2 separate regions of the Homo sapiens genome follow, and region 1 is linked to region 2. Evidence: promoter capture Hi-C in human tissues and cell types (Jung and others, 2019). All regions are on one chromosome and are shown on one strand. Each heading gives the region's core, a stretch centred on a gene start or on the middle of the fragment in contact. The rest is flanking DNA. Distances are from core to core; before and after follow the strand shown. Region 1 overlaps RHPN2 (rhophilin Rho GTPase binding protein 2). Region 2 holds the start of ANKRD27 (ankyrin repeat domain 27).

The links. Contacts are between HindIII fragments. The study calls those that stand out against the background at their distance.
Region 1: a fragment that was not itself captured here is called in contact with the fragment with the promoter of ANKRD27 in region 2 in 1 of the 25 tissues and cell types used here (IMR-90 fibroblasts).

What each region holds. Positions count from the first base shown.
Region 1 is chr19:33,045,948-33,052,049 of GRCh38, forward strand. The region is part of intron 1 of RHPN2 (rhophilin Rho GTPase binding protein 2); the gene reads right to left. It also overlaps the pseudogene LOC124904805. Among named protein-coding and RNA genes, the nearest start is that of RHPN2, 16 kb to the right of the region's middle. RefSeq lists an enhancer at 2,333-3,051. The HindIII fragment of the contact is 8,752 bases long and covers 1-5,983 here.
Region 2 is chr19:32,671,701-32,677,316 of GRCh38, forward strand. It overlaps ANKRD27 (ankyrin repeat domain 27), which reads right to left and starts at 3,480. Exons shown (of 29, transcript NM_032139.3): 1 at 3,371-3,480. RGS9BP (regulator of G protein signaling 9 binding protein) reads left to right here and starts at 4,148. Exons shown (of 1, transcript NM_207391.3): 1 at 4,148-5,616. The coding sequence starts at 4,564. The coding sequence ends at 5,271. RefSeq lists silencers at 2,965-3,014, 3,035-3,764, 4,335-4,394 and enhancers at 3,408-4,027, 3,915-4,024, 4,795-4,844. The HindIII fragment of the contact is 6,498 bases long and covers 1,273-5,616 here.

The sequences.
Region 1 (6,102 bases), core at 358-2,857, 370 kb after region 2:
TATGTGGCCTTTGCATCTGGCTTCTTTCATTTGCCATGATGTTCTCAAGGTTTATCCAGGTTGTAGCATGTATCAGAACTTTGTCCGTTTTTGTCCCTGAATAAGATTTCATTACATAGATACACCACACTTGTGTACTTTATCCATTCATCATTCATCATACAATGGGCATGGGGAGTGTTTTCACTTTTTGACTATTACGAATAAGGCTGTTTATGTGCGTACAAGGTTTTATATGGATATGTGCTTTTGTTTCTCTTGGCTATAAATATAGAAATAAAATGTCTAGATCAGGTGGTTTTTTTGTTTTGTTTTTATTTTTGATTCTGTTTTTTTGAGACAGAGGCTTGTTCTGTCGTCCAGGCTTGAGTGCAGTGGCTCGATCTCGGCTCATTGCAACCTCTGTCTCCCAGGTTCGAACGATTCTCCTGCTTCAGCCTCCCGGGTAGCTGGGATTACAGGCGTGCACCACCATGACCAGATAATTTTTGTATTTTTAGTAGAGAGGCGGGTTTCATGATGTTGGCCAGGGTGATCTCAAACTCCTGACCTCAAGTGATCCGCTTGGCTTGGCTTCCCAATATGCTGGGATTACAGGCGTGAGCCACTGAGCCCGGTCTAGATCATATGATTTATTCTATGTTTAATGATTTGAGGAACTATCAGGCTCTTCAAAGTGGTTATACAATTTTACAACCCAACTAACAGGATGAGAGTTCCAATTCATCTACATCTCACCAATACAGGTGCTGGTCTATCTTTTTTATTACAGCTACCTTATGTGTGTGCTGTCTCACATCGTGGTTTTGAATTGTGTCTCCCTGACAGTTAATGATGTTGAATATCTTTTCATGAACTTATTGGCCAACTGTATATCTTCTTCGAAGAAATATCAATTCAGATCCTTTGCCCATTTTTTTTTTTTGAAACAGGGTCTCAGTCTGTCACCCAGACTGGACTGCTGCAGTGGTATGATCTTGGCTCACTGCAACCTTCACCTCCTGGGTTCAAGTGATTCTCCTGCCTCAGCCTCCTGAGCAGCTGGGACTACAGGTGCATGCCACCACGTCCGGCTAATTGTTCCATTTTTTGGTAGAGACAAGGTTTCACCATTTTTTTGCCAGGCTGGTCTTGAATTCCTGACCTCAAGTGATCTGCCCATCTTGGCCTCCCAAAGTGCTAGTCTTACAGGTGTGAGCCACCACACCCAGCTCTCCTTTGCCCAGTTTTAAACTGGATTGTCTTTTTATCTGTCTGGTTGAAAATTATTTTTAATTTCTGTCAAGTTGACATGCAAAAATAGATAGCTCATTCTTCTAATTTGTATGTTTATTATAACAGTGAAGGTAAAGGTTTTTCCATATAATCTTGACACTTTAATTTCTTTTTCAACAAATTGTCTGTGTTCTCTGACCATTGTGCCCTGGGGTATTTGGATTACAACGCTTCACGCTAAAAGTTTAAGATCAGAATAAAAGCTGCATTTTAGCTGAATGGTGTTCTTCCCACCCCAGACAGGTAGAAGCCTCAGGACCTGGGATACGCCCACATTCCTCTTTGCCGCTTATCTCTAGGTCCTGCCCACTGCGGTTACTCCCTGGGAGCGGTCTGGCGGGTAGTATTACGTGGTGAAGAGACTGCCCTTTCTCTCTCCCTGAGTCACATCTCAGGCCTGCACACACCTGGCCTCTCCGACCTCTGCCCAAGCCACACCCATGGCCTGGACCCCAGGGAGGGAGATGTGAGTTATCTATAGCGGAAACCTCCTCAGGAATCCCAGTATTCTCCTTCCACAGAGATTTCTCATTCTTGGCCAGAATGGTCATGGTAGCTCACAACTGTAATCCCAAGCACTTTGAGAGGCTGAGGCCAGAGGATCGCTTGAGGCCAGGAGTTTGAGGCTGCGGTGAGCTACAATTGCGCCACTGCACTCCAGCCTGGATAACAGAGTGAGACTCTGTCTCTACAAATAATAATAAAAATTTTTAAATAATAATAAAAATAAAAGACTTCTCATTCTCATTTCCCATCAGGTCACCACCACCCATCCCCCACATAGCCCCACAACCTAATTTTCCCTGTCTCGCAAGGACACTTTCCCCCAAGTTCAAATTGCACAGATATTCGGAATTCGAGTTGGCTTCTGTAGACAGGCTGGAGTGCAGTGGTACGATCTCAGCTCAGTACAGCCTCTGCCTCCTGGGTTCAAGTGATTATCCTGCCTCAGCCTGCTGAGTAGCTGGAATTACAGGCACCCACCACCACACCCAGCTAATCTTTCTATTTTTAGTAGAGATGGGGTTTCACCGTGTTGGCCAGGCTGGTCTCGAACTCCTGACCTCAGGTGATCCACCCGCCTCGGCCTCCCAAAGTGCTGGGATTACAGGCATGAGCCATGGCATCCAGCCCTGGAATGGATTTTAAAATTAATATCGTTTAAAGCATTAAACGGTTTCCAATTTTGTCTTTCTTCAGATTTAAGATTAAAATATCTTTGGCCGGGCATAGTAGTTCACGCCTGTAATCCCAGCACTTTGGGAGGCTGAGGCGGGTAGATCACCTGAGGACAGGAGTTCGAGAACAGCCTGGCCAACATGGTGAAACCCTGTCTCTACTAAAAATATAAAAATTAGCTGGGCGTAGTGGCATGCGCCTATAATCCCAGCTACTCTGGAGGCTGAGGCAGGAGAATCACTTGAACCCGGGAGGCAGAGGTTGCAGTGAGCCAAGATAACACCACTGCACTCCAGCCTGGGTGACACAGCGAGACTCAGTCTCAAAAAAAAAAAAAAAAAAAACTTTAATGTTAAGCTATTATAATTAAATATTAAATAACTAAAATAACTGTTCATCTCTTTCCTTTCCACTTCCAAAAATGACGACGATTCAGTTTGACTCTGAATTACCTGGATCACCACTGCTGTGTTTCATTTTACAGGGAAGCTTGAATAACTAATTCCTTTACGTACATTCCCAGAGCTCAGATAAGCAGCCATTCCAAACTACGGATAAGAATGTTTTTTTTTCTGTTCGTATACTTTCCCCAACTTCTGCTGGCCTGGAATCAGTACGCCCTAACCAGCCCATAGATATGTGGTCAGGTTTCTAGATAAGGCATAGGAACACTTAGGGTTAGATTTGACTGAGTAATTGGGCCCGAAACCACATTACTTATTCCTGACAGGTAGGAATGTTGGGCTTTGCTGGGGAACACAAGAAACACCCACGGGGCTGTGTGTGGAAACTTCCCTGAGAGGTAAATCTGGACAAGACTGTCAGAAAGACTCCCTGGCATCACCAGAAACTATTGGCCATCTACTAGCCCCTGCCAGGGGCTGCTCTGTAGGGGACAAGGTGGCGGGTCCACCATCCCCACCCATACATTTCTCACCCCACCCCCTATCTTGTGTAATAACGAGACCTTAGCCCTGAACAAACAGCTTCCAGAATAGCCTCTGCAACTCAGAGACAGGGATTGGTTCTCAACAGAACACAAAGCCGCTCTGAGACTGGAGTGAGGGTTTGCACCAGGGACTGGGGCTAAACCTCTCACACCTGTGGGGCCAACTGAGCTGTCCTGACCTCGGGATCTGCTGTTGACAAGTTCTACAGTGAAGTGAGACTTTCTCCTCCACAGAGTCTATTCCCTTCCCACACTAAGGTTCGGACATTTCCGTCAGTCCCGAAACTTGAAGAGTGGGCAAACAGCCAACACCCAAGAAAAGCAAGTACTGAGTGAACCCCCGTGTCATCACCAGCTTTACAGGCAACTCCTGGGGTCGGCCCGCTTATGTGGACCCTGGTACAGCATCTCGGATCCCATGGTTCTGCAGCAAGGAGGCTATATGAGCAACTTGAGATCCTAGAGGCAGGCAGTAAAAGTTGGGGTGGGATTTAAGACCCTGTCCTTCCTGCTGCTCCAGGATGAGCGGTGAGGCGGTGTGAGCGGTAGGAATGCATGCAACCCCCAGACACCCCTTCATGGGTGATGGCTGCCCACCATCACCCCACATCTTTTGGGGGAACAGTGATGCCAGCCCACTCTCCCGCCTCATAGCCCATGATGGCCTGGTGGGGGGCAGGGGTGTGTGTGTAAATCCATGCTCCCCCAACATCCTTTCCAAAGGGAAGAACATCTGACTTCTGCCTGGCCCATTGGAAAACCAAAGCCTGAAGATCAGGGTCAATCGAAACCCATCAGGAAGAGGTCCTCATTGGCCTTGAACCTGGGAGGCTGTGACACTGAGCAGTTGCAGCCACCTTACCACCAGCAGAAGAGTGTCTCCCTAGACAGGGAACCAACCCCAGGTGGGCTGAGCTGAGAAACAGATTTGGCGATGTCATCTGAGCCCTGGATCAAGCTAGGCCTGAAGCCATCCCTCTGTACTTTTCATTTACAGCAACCAATTCATTCCCTTCTTTGTATCTCAATTTTCTGAATTGAGATACAATTTATATATAATAAAATACACATATTTTAAGTATATAGTTCAATGAGTTTGAACAAACATATAAACCTGCGTAACCATCACTCCTATCAAAATACAGAACACAGAACATTTCCATCATCCCCAGGCAACCAATACTCTGATTTCTATCACCACATATTTTTGTCTGCTTTTGAACTATGTAAATGTAATCAGATAGGATGTAGACTTTTATGTCTGGTTTATTTTGCTCAATACCATGTTTTCAGATTCACCCATGCTGTTTCATTTACCAGTAGTTTGTTCCTTTTTTTGTTTTTTTAGACAGAGTTTCGCTCTTGTTGCCCGGGCTGGAGCACAGTGGCGTGAACTCGGCTCACTGCAAACTCCACCTCCCGGGCTCAAGCGATTCTCCTGCCTCAGCCTCCTGAGTAGCTAGAATTGCAGGCACCCGCCACCACACCCGGCTAATTTGTGTGTTCCTTTTTTATTGTGGGATAGAATTCTATTGGAGGAACATACTAGGGTGTGTTTATCTGCCAAAGTTATTTTGGATTAAATTTTCTAGCACCTGCAACTAAAAAAGTACTAACTCAAATAAGTTTACCTAGAGTGAAAACTCTTTTCTTTCCTTTGAGACAGAGTCTCACTCTGTCACCCAAGCTGGAGTGCAGTGGCATGATCTCAACTCACTGCAACCTCCGCCTCCTGGACTCAAGCGATTCTCCTGTCTCAGCCTCCTGAGTAGCTGGGATTACAGGTGCACACCACCATGCCCGGCTAATTTTTGTATTTTTAGTAGACACAGGGTTTTGCCATGTTGGCCAGGCTGGTCTCAAACTCCTGGACTTAAGTGATCTGCCCACCTCGCCCTCCCAAAGTGCTGGGACTACAGGTGCGAGCCACCGCACTGGCCTAGAGTGAAAACTCTCTTTACAGGTCACTTACATGCCCTTAATGTACAGTCAGATTGTTCACCTGTAAGACACGTATTTAAGAGCAGCACCTAGACAAAGCCCACAGGCAGGAAGACTGTACTTCCAGGGATCATTTCTACAGTTCGTTACTAGAGAAGTTTCTCTGTACGTGTACAGCAACCGTTTATATTAGTGTGGCACACACCTATCTGAAAGCTTTGAGTGCAGCAATGCGGATTCACCTTGCTTGTAACTACTGTTCTTAAGCTCATAAAACAGCTAAATAATGTGGTGTAACAACTAAATGTGTGCCCAGAGAAAAGCCTCAGAATGTTATCCTAGGTGAAATCTGTTCAGTGAACAGACAGATCACAGCTACAGTGACATTTCTGCCACTGTTACAAGTTTCTTACAAAGTGAGAAAGTGGCTGTCTAAAATCAGACAAAGGCCTGGTGTGGTGGCTCACGTGTATAATCATGGCACTTTGGGAGGCTGAGGTGGGCGGATCACTTGAGGTCAGTAGTTTGAGACCAGACTGGCCAACATGGTGCAACCCTGTCTCAAGCAAAAAATACAAAACTTAGCCCAGGCGTGGTGGCGTGTGTCTATAGTCCCAGCTACTCGGGAGTCGGAGGTTGCAGTGAGCCGAGAACTTGCCACTGCCCTCCTGCCTGGGTGACAGAGTGAGACCCTGTCTCAAAAAAAAAAAAAAAAAAAGAATTAAAGTCAGAAAGAGAGCCCTTACCAAAAACTGACC
Region 2 (5,616 bases), core at 2,230-4,729:
AAACAAACAAAAGAATTAGTTTGCTATTTTAAAATAACATGCAAAGAAAATGGACTTTTTCTTGTAAAACTGGAAAGATAAGTGAATCTTCTTATAAAACTTCTTTTAAAAAATTCCATCCCTGCCTGGGCTCAAATGATGGGAAAATGTACAGAAAATCCAGTTGAGTTAGCTGGAGATACCAAATACCTCTAAATGTGAGTTATCTGCAGTTATTCTATGAACAGGAGAGCCATGTGAGGCCTCAAACTAGTATTTCAGGGAGCAGCGTGCACACTCGTGGTTTTGTGGTCTTCAACCGTCCTGCTAGCCCAGATAAGTCTGGGTGGTCAAGAACCGTCTGGTGACAGCGTGCAGCCCAGCTCAGCAGAATTCAGCATGGGGGAATTCAGCCTCCTTAGAGATGCACTCCCTGCTGAAATCTCACTGCGATGGCCGTTCCCGCCCTTCCGGGGCTCTGACCAAACACTCTGACCAGGAACGCTTCCCAACAGATAAGCAGTATTCTCCATTTGGTCTAATTTATGATTCAGAAGGAAAAGGCGAAAAACGAAAACTTTCTATTCATCTATTTTTCACACCAATGGAAGCAATGTGGTGATGTATGTATGCTGTTACAGTCACTTGTGTCCTCCTGACCTATAACATTTAGAGATCCTGTCCATATTCTTCTCAAAGCTTCTCATTAAAGCACCCAGCCCTGCGCCTGGTTCCCTGCAGAGATGGAGTAACTGCTCACCCACTTGAACAAAACGATAGTGGGGCATTAAGAGGAAGCCCCAGCTCCCAGGGAGAGGTCATCTCTCACAAGAGCTGGAACTCCACTGTCCATATCCAGGGTAGGTGAGGGGCTAACCCCAGGTCATAGCCAAGCAAGCACAAAGGCAAAAAGCCCAAAACAATCAGGATGCTCAGTGCCAGCCCAACACAGTGATAGCTGGAATGGGCAGGGCTAGAGAGAAGCCAGGACTGGAACCAGGGCGGGACCATGCAGGGAGCGGGAAAGTTTGGAGGAGCACAACAGCCCCTCCGAATGCCACCGCATCACCCTGTTCCCGGACCACAGGGAGAAGAACCACCATGCACCCTCCACCAGTATCTTGGGCAGATGGGCAGGAGCTCTAGGGCCGCTTCTCAGTGTTCCTCAGATGGAGAATCAACCTCAGGACAAATCAAGTCTGGATCCTTCTGGGCTGAATCCTTTCTAGGATTGGTACCTATCATGACATGGTCACATTCCTCCACTCCTCTATGAGAGGATGGAGTCATTGGACACCAACCTAATGCTGGCAAATGACAGACAGGAAGAGCCCCAGCAGGGCAGATGCCACAGAAACCTTAACTGGGACACAGAAACATCACTAACAAAGACCCAGCAGCTGTCTTGGTGAGGGAGACACAGTCTAACAGTCACAAAGAGGCACAACGGAGACCCTAACCCCCGGCCCTCTGCAGACACCTCTGCCTGCCCTCCCAGGGAAGCTGCCGGCCAAGATTATTTCAGGTCACCAGGCAAGACTGGGTGTAACTTGGGAATGTAAGTCTATCCAATGTCAGATCCCCAGGTGCATTCCTGTCCCTATGGCTGGTCAGAAGAAGTCTCTGCTCCTGCTCCCATCCTGCATCCCCTCCTTCCAAGGCCTACGGGCTGTGCCTCCTGGATCTGCCCCCTGGATTTCACTCACGCCTGTCCACCAGCAACACAACAAAGCGATCTTTCCAGCGCCGAGCTCTGCAGGATTCCTCAAAGGATTCCCCTGCACTCCCCACCAGGTGAGCCCTCAACTTCTCTGCTAGGTGCTCAGGACCTGGCACATCTGGCCTCTGGCCACCTTTGCAGCTTCCTCACCCTCTGCTGTCTCCAAAGCTTCCCCCGAAGGGAAAGAGTATTTTCCCTCTTTCCACCCATTTTGTCCTGAAAACTACTATCCCCCTGGGAACGACCCTATGTAGCGTGTGGGTGGCTGAGAACCCCCCTTCCACACAATGGTCAAGGCCAGGAGTACCCAAGCCCTGGCAGCAAACACCCAGCCTACTGCTCACCCAGTTAAAGGACGGACCCCTGGGTGACAGCAGGCCCCGGGGCTCAGTACACCGGACCCTTAGGCCACCTCAACACCAGTCCTCATGCCAGGCTGATCTCGAAACGTAACAGCTACTGCTCAGCAAAACGTGGTGGCTAGTGCCTGTAATCCCAACACCTTGGGAGGCCAAGACGAGAGCATGGCTTGAGTCCAGGAGTTCAAGACCAGCCTAGGCAACCTGCTAGACTCCATCTCTACAAAAAAAAAAAAAAAAAATTAAAAATTAGCCGTGCATAGTGGCATGCGCCTGTAGTCCCAGCTACTACAGAGGCTGAGGTGAAAGGATTGCTTGAGTCCAGGAGTTTGAGGCTGCAATGAGCTATGATGGCATCACTGCACTCCAGACTAGCCAACAGAGCCAGACCCTGTCTCAAAAAGAAAAAAACGAAAAGAAAGAAAAGAAAAAAAATATCCACTGCTCTACTCTTCGGCCAGTGGGAAGAGTGCATTTTTTAATCAAAATAGGGGCCTCTATCCATGAAACCCATCAACTTGTAAAATCTGAGCTCTCTGCAGCCTCACAGTCCCTCCAGCACTGCCAGCAGCCCTCGTTCCCTGCATGCTCTAAATCCTCAGCGAAGACCCGTCCCTTGCTCCCTCGCCCAGCACAGGCCGCGAGTGCCCACGTCCCCTGCACCTCGTGGGGCAGCCAAGGGGGCACCGCGTGGCTCGTGTGCTCCTGGGCAGTCCATTTTCAACCACAAGACGGAACAGACTCAGAATCCGGAACATCTCTCGGTGCTTAAGAGTTTTCCTTTAACAATCTTTACCTGTGGGAATGCAGAGACCCCCCCGCCCTGCGAGAGGCCGGCAGCCAGGGATTCCCCGCTCCGCGCCCTCATCACCCCCCGGAAACCACAACCGCTGCGCGCGCGGCTCGGACCCCCACCCGCCGCTCCCCTCCAGCAGACCCTAGGCCTCCGGGAAACCGCGCGGCGACCGCCCCGCGCCCCGCCAGATCCGAACCGCCGGACCCGGCACCCCGGCCACACCCGCCGGTGTCGACGCAGCGAGGCTCGGAGGGTGCATTCTCCGCGCCGACCGCTCCCCTCCTCCAGACCCGAGGGGCGGAGTGGGCAGGGCGCGCCGGCTGCGCACCGGGCACCCACCTGGGGACGCGGGGGCTGGGGCGGCGCGGGGCCACCTGGCGGACCCGGGAGCGGACTCCGGAGAGCAGGGAGCCCCTCCCCCCTCACTCTCCGGGCCCCGCCCGGCCGCCGCGCCCCGAGGCGCAGCCATCCCGCGGGAGGGGAGGCGCAGGAGGAGGCCAGCGCGAGGACACTTACTTAAAAGGCTACATCGCTTCATTCCCAGCCCATCCTGGGCGACGGCGGCACCTCCCTCGTCCGCTGCTGGGACCTCGATGCCCACCACCCTCGCGCGGCGATCTGGCCCTATAGCCCACCCCTTACTCCGCCGTGGGGCGGAGCCGCGCCACAGCTGACCCAATGAGAAACCGTCGTTTCCCAGAGTGACGTGTACGCAGAGCAATCATGGAGTCCAGCCCAGCCGGGGGCGGGGCTCAGGCGGCTCCCTACGCTTCCTACTCCAGCTGGCCCCGCCCCACGCCCGCAACTGCGCGTGCCCAGAACGTGAGGGGCGGGGCTGGGAGCCGGGCTGACACTAGAGGTGGGGTTAGCGCTTGGAAGCACCGACCAACGTGAGCGCAACGCGGCAGGGACACCTGACCCCGGCGGCGCCCAGCCCCTCGGATTGCCAGTCACTGCTCGCTTTGGGGCACGGAGGTGCCCAGTCCTGCGGGGCACCCGACGTCCTGTCGCCGACAGGGTCCGGGAGTCAGTATAGCTGGGTTCTAGTCCCATCACAGGCAAAAACTCCGCGGGAGCCTGGCCCGCTTTTTACCTGGGCCTCAGTTTCCCCATCCGTAAAATAGAACGGGTTGGATCTCCCGAGCGCTAACATTCCAGAACTCGGATGGGGCGAAGGGGAGGGAGGGATGGGCCACCCACACGTGACCTCCCCGCGTGGAGCCCCGCCTACCACTGATCCAGGGGGTGGCAGCTCCGGCCGGGACGAGCGGGGTGGGCGGGTCCTAGGAAACCCTACCCGGCCGCCCTTGGCAGCGCCTAAGGCGGAGCGCGCGGCTCTGCAGCCTGCTTGCCCCGGAGTTGGCACCCACGGAGGATGGGGACCGCACCCTCAGCTTCGCAGGGAGCCACCGTGGAGGCCAGGGCGGTGCAGAGACACGACGTGTGACTCGGAGTGCGCCTGGGGAGGATGGACGAGGGAGCGGGGGACCGCTAACGGGGCTCCCTCTGCGCGCCCCGTCCGCAGAGGCGCACGTCGAGGGTCCCGGGCGGGCTCCGTGGACGTTGGCGGTAGCGCCGAGCGAGTCACGGACCATGAAGAGCGTTCGTGCCGCGCGGCCCAAGGCCGGGATGGGGGTTAGCCACATCCTGCCGCGCTGAGGGGGAGGCTAACGGGCGCGGGCGGCCGGGCCCAGCCGGAGCCCACCGCGATGGCGAGGGAGGAGTGCAAGGCGCTGCTGGACGGGCTCAACAAGACGACTGCGTGCTACCACCACCTGGTGCTGACCGTCGGTGGCTCGGCGGACTCGCAGAACCTGCGGCAGGAGCTGCAAAAGACGCGCCAGAAGGCGCAGGAGCTGGCGGTGTCCACCTGCGCCCGGCTGACTGCTGTGCTGCGCGACCGGGGCCTGGCCGCCGACGAGCGCGCCGAGTTCGAGCGGCTCTGGGTGGCCTTCTCGGGCTGCCTGGACCTGCTGGAAGCGGACATGCGACGCGCGCTGGAGCTGGGCGCCGCGTTCCCGCTGCACGCGCCGCGGCGGCCGCTGGTGCGCACAGGTGTGGCTGGCGCCTCCTCCGGCGTGGCGGCGCGCGCGCTGAGCACCCGCAGCCTGCGGCTCGAGGCGGAGGGCGACTTCGACGTCGCGGACCTGCGGGAGCTGGAGCGCGAGGTCCTTCAGGTGGGCGAGATGATCGACAACATGGAGATGAAGGTCAACGTGCCCCGCTGGACCGTGCAAGCCCGGCAGGCGGCGGGCGCCGAGCTCCTGTCCACGGTCAGCGCCGGCCCCTCCTCGGTCGTGTCCTTGCAGGAGCGCGGGGGGGGTTGCGACCCCAGGAAGGCCCTGGCCGCCATCCTTTTCGGCGCCGTGCTGCTGGCGGCTGTGGCCCTAGCCGTGTGCGTGGCGAAGCTGAGCTGACGGACACCCGACGGCCGCCTGCTGCTGCCGCTCCCTCCCCTGAGAAAAGACTCGGGATGGGTGTGGGGTCTGGCCTGTGCAAGGGGAGTGGTCCTAAAACCCCGTGTGTGCATGGGTACACGCGCGTTTCCAGTGCACATCTGCCTGGGCAGGACACGGTTTCCTCTTGCTGGCCCGGGAGGAGTTAACTTTGCGCCGGCCGTCAGGGCATTACCGCTAACGTCTGCAGGAGCTTTATTCCCTATTAATAGAAAACCGTCACAGTGACCCTAGATCCCTCCGAGTTAATGAGTTAACACATGTGCTGTTGGGGCGTCTTTACAGGGAGTCCGAGTTCGGTGCCCA